Regions from separate parts of the Homo sapiens genome. Here regions 1 and 3 are each linked to region 2. The links are contacts of gene promoters, found by promoter capture Hi-C in blood cells and fetal thymus (Javierre and others, 2016). All regions are on one chromosome and are shown on one strand. Each heading gives the region's core, a stretch centred on a gene start or on the middle of the fragment in contact. The rest is flanking DNA. Distances are from core to core; before and after follow the strand shown. Region 1 overlaps EP400 (E1A binding protein p400). Region 2 holds the start of STX2 (syntaxin 2). Region 3 has its middle 8.0 kb from the start of ULK1.

Region 1 (2,948 bases), core at 106-2,605, 1.2 Mb after region 2:
CCTCCGTGCCAGTAGTCAGGGCAGCAGGGCTGCCTCTCATCTAAAGCAAAACTACCTTCCTCACAGAAAACGCTTTATTAGTGAACCTTGGGACCATGTCACGCAAGAGATTCAGCACTGGGAAAGATATAATTGAAACAAAATAGTGTAATCATTTTATTAAAATGCATCCCACACTGCAGGACAAATGGTCCTTATGGAGTGCCGCGTTCTCTGTACTACGTGGCTCATGGAAAAAGTGACAACATGGCTTCCTCTAAATCATTTCACCTTTCAGTCCCCACCCGCACCCGTCCCCTAGAGCCATAGTACTGTGTTCTGAAAGCCATTTAGAATTTCTTTGTGAGCATGTAGTGCTTTGCACGCCACAGAAGCCGTCTGCCGTGTGTGAGGAGCATACAATGGACTTTCTAAAGATAAGGCGTGGGCTTCCACAGTGTCTGCCAGAGTTTAGTTCTTTATACCTTACTGAAAAATGCCTCGTGGTCTTCGCAGAGGGGAAGGCCTGTCTAAAGTCAATCATCCGAGATGGGTTTTCCATTCCAAAGAAAGGCAATATGGTTCCTTCCTTCCCTCCTAAAATATGACTTAACTTTTAAGAGAAATGTTCTGACACCCACCTAAACACACAAGGCACGTTCCTGGCCTGTGTTCAAGGGAAATGATCAGTCATTGCATTGTTATTCCAAAGAGCAGCCAACAGTGGCCTCCCCCAGGCCCTACCCTGCAATGGGATTCGCTTTCATTTAATGGAAACTTCTGGGACTGATGCCCAACTCAGTGCACTCAAGACGCATCTCCAGTTTTCGGGGGAAGCTGGTATTTGACATAGTGTGTTAAACAGCTCCTGAGAACCTTTGGGACACTCTGCCATGGCTGGCGTGAGGCCCAGAGGACCACGCAGAGGCAATGGTAGTACAGATGTCACAGCTGAGGGTACGATGAGGCCTGGGCTCAGTGAGCCAGGACGAATGTGACAGACACCCCTTGCTGCCACAGTCAGCCCTTTGACGAAGGTGGGCTGGTGATTCTGGAAGTATTGGCTATAGCGGTGGGCCCAGTCAACTCTTCCTTGTGGACTTACGACAGCAGATTTTCTCTAGGATAAGCTTGTGTGGTTCTGCCAGTGAAGCAGAGAACCACCTGTGCTGTTGTGGAAGGCGTGCCGTTGAGGGGGAAAACGAAGCCCAGTATTTGCTACTGTTTTTCCTTTTTTTACTATGACAGGAAAATAAATGCAATTTTAGTGGAATTGATTGACAGTGTCTCCTTACTTTGAAGTTTTCACCAAAGCAAAAAGGTCCATATCCAATAGTATCCTTTGTGCTGTGGCTTGATTTTGGCCTATTTTACATTATTTGGTCCAGGAAATTAGGTTATATTAGGTTTTTTGTATACTAAAAATCAGTTATGGCACAATAAAGATTTTCTGTTTTTAAATTGTATTTCATCTGCTTCCTCCCCATTCTCTCACTTTAAGTGACATTGAGGAAGGTATTCTGTCCCACAGGTTTCTGTGGACAGCGATACAGCAGGAGTCAGTGAAATCAACTGGGGAGCTCACTTGAGCTCTTGATAAGAAATGTGGAGAAAAGTAAAAACCAAGCTTTGAAGAAACAGAAGAAATTAATCTTTTAGTTAGTTGAACATACCAAAGCAGAGGACTGGAATCTGTTTGTTCTAACCAACCCGTTCTCCCTGGCTTGGCACGTGCCGTGAGAGCGCAGCTTGCCGGAGGGAGGGCCGCTGTGTGCGCCTCACATCTGGCTCCCAGTGGAAACTTTTACTCCTCCTCATCCGCAGATGTGATAGAACTGAAGTATCTAGGAATTCTGCCTTTGTCATTTGTTTTAATTTGTGTGCCCTGTTCATTTTTTTTGTCTTTCCCAAATCTTGGTAGTCTCCTTATAGTTGAAGATAAAATGTTGAGTGCACTTATTTTAGAATATCCTAGACATAACTGTCTAAGTAAAAGCGCTCTATTAATCTAAAACACTACAAGAGAATTTAACACCATCTCTCAAATGCTTTTTTGGAGAGCTTAATGGGATTCTGAATATTTGCAATGTGGAGTTTCCGCCCCGATCTCACGTCAGTGAGGGTCTCCTGTCTCTCAAGTGTGTTTCCTTTGGCTGTTCCCTAATACAAAACACGGACATATTTTTACTCGTAGCACTCAATTTAGTAACTTCTAGATGCTACCGTTGACCTGAGTTAAATTCATTTAGTCGTGTACGTAAAAACTCTCCTTTTAGTGTGTTATTTTCTTGGCCTTCCCTTTTAAAGGTTAAAGTTTCTAACCTAAGAATTAAGTACGCGTTCAGGAAGCTGTTGTCTAGGCCTTCCCCTTGTGAATCTGGGTTCATTCCAATACGGCAAGTAAGAGTTGGAAACTTTGAGAACACAGACTATAAAGGCAGCAGCCCGAACACTGTCAGACTCTAATTGGCGACCCTGGGAAACAGTTGCCCTGCTATTCTTTAAAGAAAGACGTTTATTCTGATGATAAAAACAGTTAGCCAGACTGTTTTTAAAGCACCTGGCGGGAAGCAGAAGGTTGGATCCAAGCCCTTGTTCAGATTTGGTGCCTGATAAGACAGGGGTTTCTCTTTTTGTGACCTTTATTATTATTATTTTGTTAACTGTTGTAACCAGTTAGCTGTTGTGTTTTAAGATAGAAAGGAACAAGACTAAAATTGTAAATACTTTGTAAACATCAGCATTTGTACTTGAATAGTAGGATTTTAAAGGGCATTGATAGCATACCAAACAAAAGGCAAAATAAAGTGACCTTTTTATATATTTTTTCATTTTGTCTTTCATAGAAAACTGGTATTTAAGTTAAATGAGATGCTGAATTTTTCATTTGTGTGAAGAAAAAACCAACAAGTAATGTTGGAGCCAGAGGTGTTCCCCTCACCCACTCTTCCGTGGCCATAGAAGGACCT
Region 2 (2,700 bases), core at 18-2,517:
ATAATGATTTAAGTGGCTCTTTTCTCTATTCTCCCACTCGGGGGTACATAACAGCTCCATTCTAGCAGCAGAGGAGAGAGAATAATTCATTACATGCAGTGGGTGTCGTAGGGCTGTGGGCCTTAGCACCCCTGTTCTGAGGCTGCCAACAATTTAGAGACCAGAGGCTCTATCTGTGCACACACGTAGCATGAATTAGTACCTGTATTGTAAAGGGAAAAAGTCATAACTACTTCTGCTGGCCTAAGCCGTCCTGGGTTAGACAAGCTTGGAAAGTGCACGACCATCACTATCATTCCGCTGTCACTGCACCATGCACAGTCCTGTCACCTTTACACGTGTAGAATGCATCGAAATCCTTCCAAAATTTTTAGTGACCTGCTTTTCCCTTGCTAAAGTAAACAGTAACTTGCTGTGTGCCCGGCTGCTGGGCGCGTAAGGTGCGTTCAGAGTCAACACACGGTCCCAGTTTCCAAAGCAAACTACTGGGAGATCAGACACAAGCTGCTGTTCGCGCTCGCCCCACCCCAAGCACCCAGCACTCTAAGGTGCCCACATTTCACACCCATCTGTTGCCTCCCGCTTGGTGCACAGTCCTTTGTGAAGCCCCAGGGATAAAGCAGCGACCAAGAGGACCCGGCCTGCTCCCCGGGGCTGACGCCAGCTGCGGGGACCCCGTGGGGCGGACCACAGTTAGGCCAGTGGGCTCCGGCTGGGTAAGCGCCAGATACAATCCGCCAAGCGGAGTGACGGACAGGGAGCCACGCTCGAAGAGGGGGTCGAGGCCGGGACCTTCCCCGCTCCCTCCTCCTGCCCCAACCCGCCCTGAGGACTCCGCCCAGGAAGCCCTGGGGACCCCGCCCGGAGCCCCCACCCTAGGACTCCCGGGACCCCCGCCCTGGGGACCCCACCAGCAGTCCCCGCTCAGGACTCCCTGAGACCCTGCCCGCAGCCCCCGCCCCAGAACGCCGGAGATCCCCGCCCTGGGGACCCTCCCGGAGCCCCGCCCAAGACGCCCCGAGCCCCCGCCCGCCCTCCAGACGCCGCCCCGGCCGGGCCTGAACCGCTACCCGCGGCTGCCGCTCACCGCCGTCAGGTCTGGCAGCCGGTCCCGCATCCCCGCCGGCCGGGCAGCGCGCCCCGCCGCTCAAGCCTGTCCCGAGCTGCCTCCGGCCGGGCCTCGGGCTCTCCGGTCTCCGCCTCAGGCCCCGCGGTCCCGGCCCGGCGCCAGCAGCCCTCCCTGGAGCCGGCGCTGCCACGGCAACCGCGCCCCGCGCGCTCTGCGCATGCCCGGCCCGCGCCGCGCCCCGCACCCACCCACACGGCGGCAGCGCTTTCCAGCGGGAGCCCGGAGGGGCGGGGCCTGGGGGCGGGGCCTAGGCGGGGAGGGGCGGGGTCCGGCCGAGCCCCAGGCTGGCAGTTCCGCTACACGTGCTGTTTGTCCCTTGATCTGCTTTTATGCTTTCACACTCATTGTTTTATTTATCAAAATATAGAGCATTCAACGAATAGTGACAAAAGAGCAAAGCTCCCGGAATGTGCTGGGTGCAGCTTTGGGTAATACATATGCCGAACCTTCTCTTTAAGGGTCCACGCGCAGCCTCGGGTGTGAATGAAGGAGAAGAGATCGTGTACCACACATGATGCTTACGGAGCATAACACGGCAGGGGGCGGTAACGGGAAGAGCGTCCGCAGGCCCAGCCCTGGGATACCATTCTGGCAGGAGAAACAGGCAATACAGACACAGACAAATAAATGATAGATGAGAAAAGAAAGTAAGGGCATGGGCACGGAACTGGCAGAGAGGTCGTCATGAAGGTGCAGGAGCTTAGGTGAACTACCCAGGTTGGGGGAACAGTCCCCAAGACCATTATCACCTCTGACACCAACGGCAAATTCTGGCGGTTTCCAAAACCACCTTCAAGTTCCATAATTTGCTAGAAGGAATCACAGAATACACTAAAAACTACTGTACTCACAACTATGGTTTCTTAGCAGGAAAATGATACGGATTAACATCAGCCAAGGAAGAAGGGCAGAGGGGGAGTCTGGGGATTACGGCGTGCAGCTTCAAGGTCCTCCCGTGGTCCTCTCCCTGTGTAGTCAGGCCTCATTACTTGCCCTGCACTGATGTGTGGCCTTACACACGAAGTACTGCCAGCCAGGGAAGCTCACTTGAGCCACAGTGTGCAGAACGTTTACTGGGCTCCATTGCATGTGCATGATTGATTGATTGTTTGATTGCTTTCATGCTTGATCTCAGCCTCTTGGTTAAGTGATATCCATGTAACCCTAAGCCCCCACCATAAATCACACTGTTACTCTCTGGCTAGCCGAAGACTCCCAGGCAAACAAAGATTGCCTTCCAGGAGGAGAAGGCAAGGCCAGATTTGTTTTTAAACAAGGTTAAAGTCTTTACTGCCTCCTGGAGGAGGTGGCTTTGGTCTGACCAGAAGGCAGCGCTAAGAAATCTGCTTGAGAGCAACAGGCTACACATTAAAAAACAGGACGTTTTGGACTTGGTTCTAGGTGTGATGTGGTTCTGTTACCCGATGGAAGGTCTTGACAGCCAGTTGTCCAGGTGAGTGTGGTGGCGGGCACCTGTAATCCCAGCTACTCAGGAGGCTGATGCATGAGAATTGCTTGAACCCGGGAGGTGGAGCTTGCAGTGAGCCAAGATCGCACCACTGCACTCCAGC
Region 3 (2,700 bases), core at 85-2,584, 1.0 Mb after region 2:
TGAGTCAGTTCCTGGGTGGGGGCCACAAGATCTGACGAGCCTGTTTATCCATCTGGGTGGTGCCAGCTGATCCATCAAGTGCAGGGTCTGCAAAATATCTCAAGCGCTGATCTTAGGAGCAGTTTAGGGAGGGTCAGAATCTTGTAGCCTCCAGCTGCATGGCTCCTAAACCGTAATTTCTAATCCTGTGGCTAATGTTAGGCAAGAAGGAGGTTTGCTTTGGGAAAGGGCTGTTACCGTCTTTGTTTAAACTGTAAACTACAAGCTAAGTTTCTCCCAAAGTTAGTTCAGCCTACGCCCAGGAATGAACAAAGACAGCTTGGAGGTTAGAAGGAAGATGGAGTCGGTTAAGTTAGATCTTTCACTGTCTCAGTCATAATTTTACAAAGGCGATGTCAGTAGCACTAAAGAAGGCAGAAACAACCAATAAACGCAGACCATGGCTTCAGGAAAACTTTATTTACAAAAGCAGGCAGTTAACATTCAGAATACATAACCAACTCCCACAACTCAACAGCAAAAAATCAAGCCACCAGATTACAAAATGGGCAAAGCACTTGAATAGGCATTTCTCCAAAGGAGATACACAAGTGGCCAGTAAGCACCTGCAAATGTTGACAAAAAGAGTCAAAATCTGTAAAATATTTGAAGAGATTTATTCTGAGCCAAACATGAGTGACCCTGACCTGTGACACAGCCTCAGGGGGTCCCGGGAACACATGCCCAAGGTGGTCGGGGCGCAGCTTGGTTTTATACATTTTAGGGAGACAGGAGACATCAATCAAATACATTAAAGAAAGACACTGTTTGGTCCAGAAGGGCGAGACAACTCAAAGGGGTGGTGGGCAGGCCTCCAGGCTATAGGTAAATTTAAACATTTTCTGGTTGACAATTGGTTGAGTTTGTCTAAAAACCTGGGATCCATAGAAAGGAAATGTTCAGGTTAAGAGAAAAGATTGTGGAGGCTAAAGTTTCTTTGAGGTCTTACAATGGCTGCCCTTAGAGAGACAGTAAGTGACAAATAATTCCTATGCTAGACTTTAAGTTAATCTCTTTAGGATTGGGAGGGCCTGAAAGAAAAAGATCTAGCTATGTTAATAGAGATTCTTCACAGATGCAAATTTTTCCCCACAAAGGAGGGCTTTGCAAAGCCTTCAAAATATGGCTAACCAGGCCGGGCGCGGTGGCTCACGCCTGCAATCCCAGCACTTTGGGAGGCCAAGGCGGGTGGATCACGAGGTCAGGAGATCGAGACCATCCTAGCTAACACAGTGAAACCCCGTCTCTACTAAAAAATACAAAAAAATTAGCCGGGCGTGGTGGCGGGCACCTGTAGTCCCAGCTACGTGGGAGGCTGAGGCAGGAGAATGGCGTGAACCCGGGAGGTGGAGCTTGCAGTGAGCCGAGATCGCGCCACTGCACTCCAGCCTGGGCGACAGAGCGAGACTCCGTCTCAAAAAAAAAAAAAAAAAAAAAAATACAAAAAATTAGCCAGGTGTGGTGGCAGGCGCCTGTAGTCCCGGCTACTGGGGAGGCTGAGGAGGAGAATGGTGTGAACCCGGGAGGCGGAGCTTGCAGTGAGCTGAGATCGCGCCACTGCACTCCAGCCTGGGTGACAGAGGGAGACTCCATCTCAAAAAAAAAAAAAAAATTAGCCAGGCATGGTGGCAGGTACCTATAGTCCCAGCTACTCAGGAGGCTGAGGCAGGAGAATGGCGTGAACCTGGGAGGCGGAGCTTGCAGTGAGCCGAGATCGCGCCACTGCACTGCAGCCTGGGCAACAGAGCGAGACTCAGTCTCAAAAAAAAAAAAAAAAAGGCTACCAGCGCAGTGGCTCACACCTGTAATCCCAGCACTTTGGGAGGCCAAGGTGGCAGATCACCTGAGGTCAGGAGTTCGAGACCAGCCTGGCCAACATGGAGAAACCCCCTCTCTACTAAAAATACACAAACTGGGTGGGGCGTGGTGGCTCATGCCTGTAATCCCAGCCCTTTGGGAGGCTGAGGCAGGTGGATCACCTGAGGTTGAGAGTTCGAGACCAGCCTGACCAACATGGAGAAACCCTGTCTCTACTAACAATACAAAAATTAGCTGGGTGTGGTGGCAGGTGCCTGTAATCCCAGCTACTTGGGAGGCTGAGGCAGGAGAATCACTTGAACCTGGGAGGCAGAAGTTGCAGTGAGCTGAGATTGTGCCACTCCACTCCAGCCTGAGTGACAGAGAGAGACTCTGTCTAAAAAAAAAAAAATTAAGTCACAATATATAGGATTAAATAAAACCCATCTGATGAGAATTTATGGTTTGTAGGGCATGACTCTCTAGACCCCTTAGATAAGAATTTGGGCAAGATAAAAAATATGAGTTTAGTCCTCACAAAGATGTTCAACATCACTAGTGGTTAGAGAAATGCAAATCAAAACCACAGTCAGGCCGGGTTCAGTGGCTCACGCCTGTAATCCTAGCACTTTGGGAGGCTAAGGCGGGTGGATCACTTGAGGTCAGGAGGATCACTGAGACCAGCCTGGCCAACATTGTGAAACCCCATCTCTACTAAAAATAAAAAATGTAGGCTGGGCACGGTGGCTCATGCCTGTAATCCCAGCACTTTGGGAGGCCAAGGTAGGCAGACTGCCTGAGCTCAGGAGTTCAACACCAGCCTAGGCAACACAGTGAAACCCCGTCTCTACTAAAATACAAAAA

The links. The method cuts DNA at HindIII sites, captures the fragments that hold promoters and counts their contacts. A CHiCAGO score of 5 or more calls a contact.
Region 1: a contact is called between a fragment that was not itself captured here and the fragment with the promoter of STX2 in region 2, in 1 of 17 cell types (monocytes). The highest score is 5.7, in monocytes.
Region 3: a contact is called between a fragment that was not itself captured here and the fragment with the promoter of STX2 in region 2, in 1 of 17 cell types (total B cells). The highest score is 5.7, in total B cells.

Annotation. Positions count from the first base shown.
Region 1 is chr12:132,077,659-132,080,606 of GRCh38, forward strand. EP400 (E1A binding protein p400) reads left to right here. Exons shown (of 53, transcript NM_015409.5): 53 at 1-2,802. The coding sequence ends at 15. Among named protein-coding and RNA genes, the nearest start is that of SNORA49, 48 kb to the left of the region's middle. The HindIII fragment of the contact is 497 bases long and covers 1,108-1,604 here.
Region 2 is chr12:130,837,983-130,840,682 of GRCh38, forward strand. STX2 (syntaxin 2) reads right to left here and starts at 1,268. Exons shown (of 11, transcript NM_194356.4): 1 at 1,088-1,268. The coding sequence starts at 1,117. RefSeq lists silencers at 832-891, 962-1,471. The HindIII fragment of the contact is 18,553 bases long and covers 266-2,700 here.
Region 3 is chr12:131,885,297-131,887,996 of GRCh38, forward strand. No RefSeq gene overlaps it. Among named protein-coding and RNA genes, the nearest start is that of ULK1, 8.0 kb to the right of the region's middle. The HindIII fragment of the contact is 6,226 bases long and covers 1-2,700 here.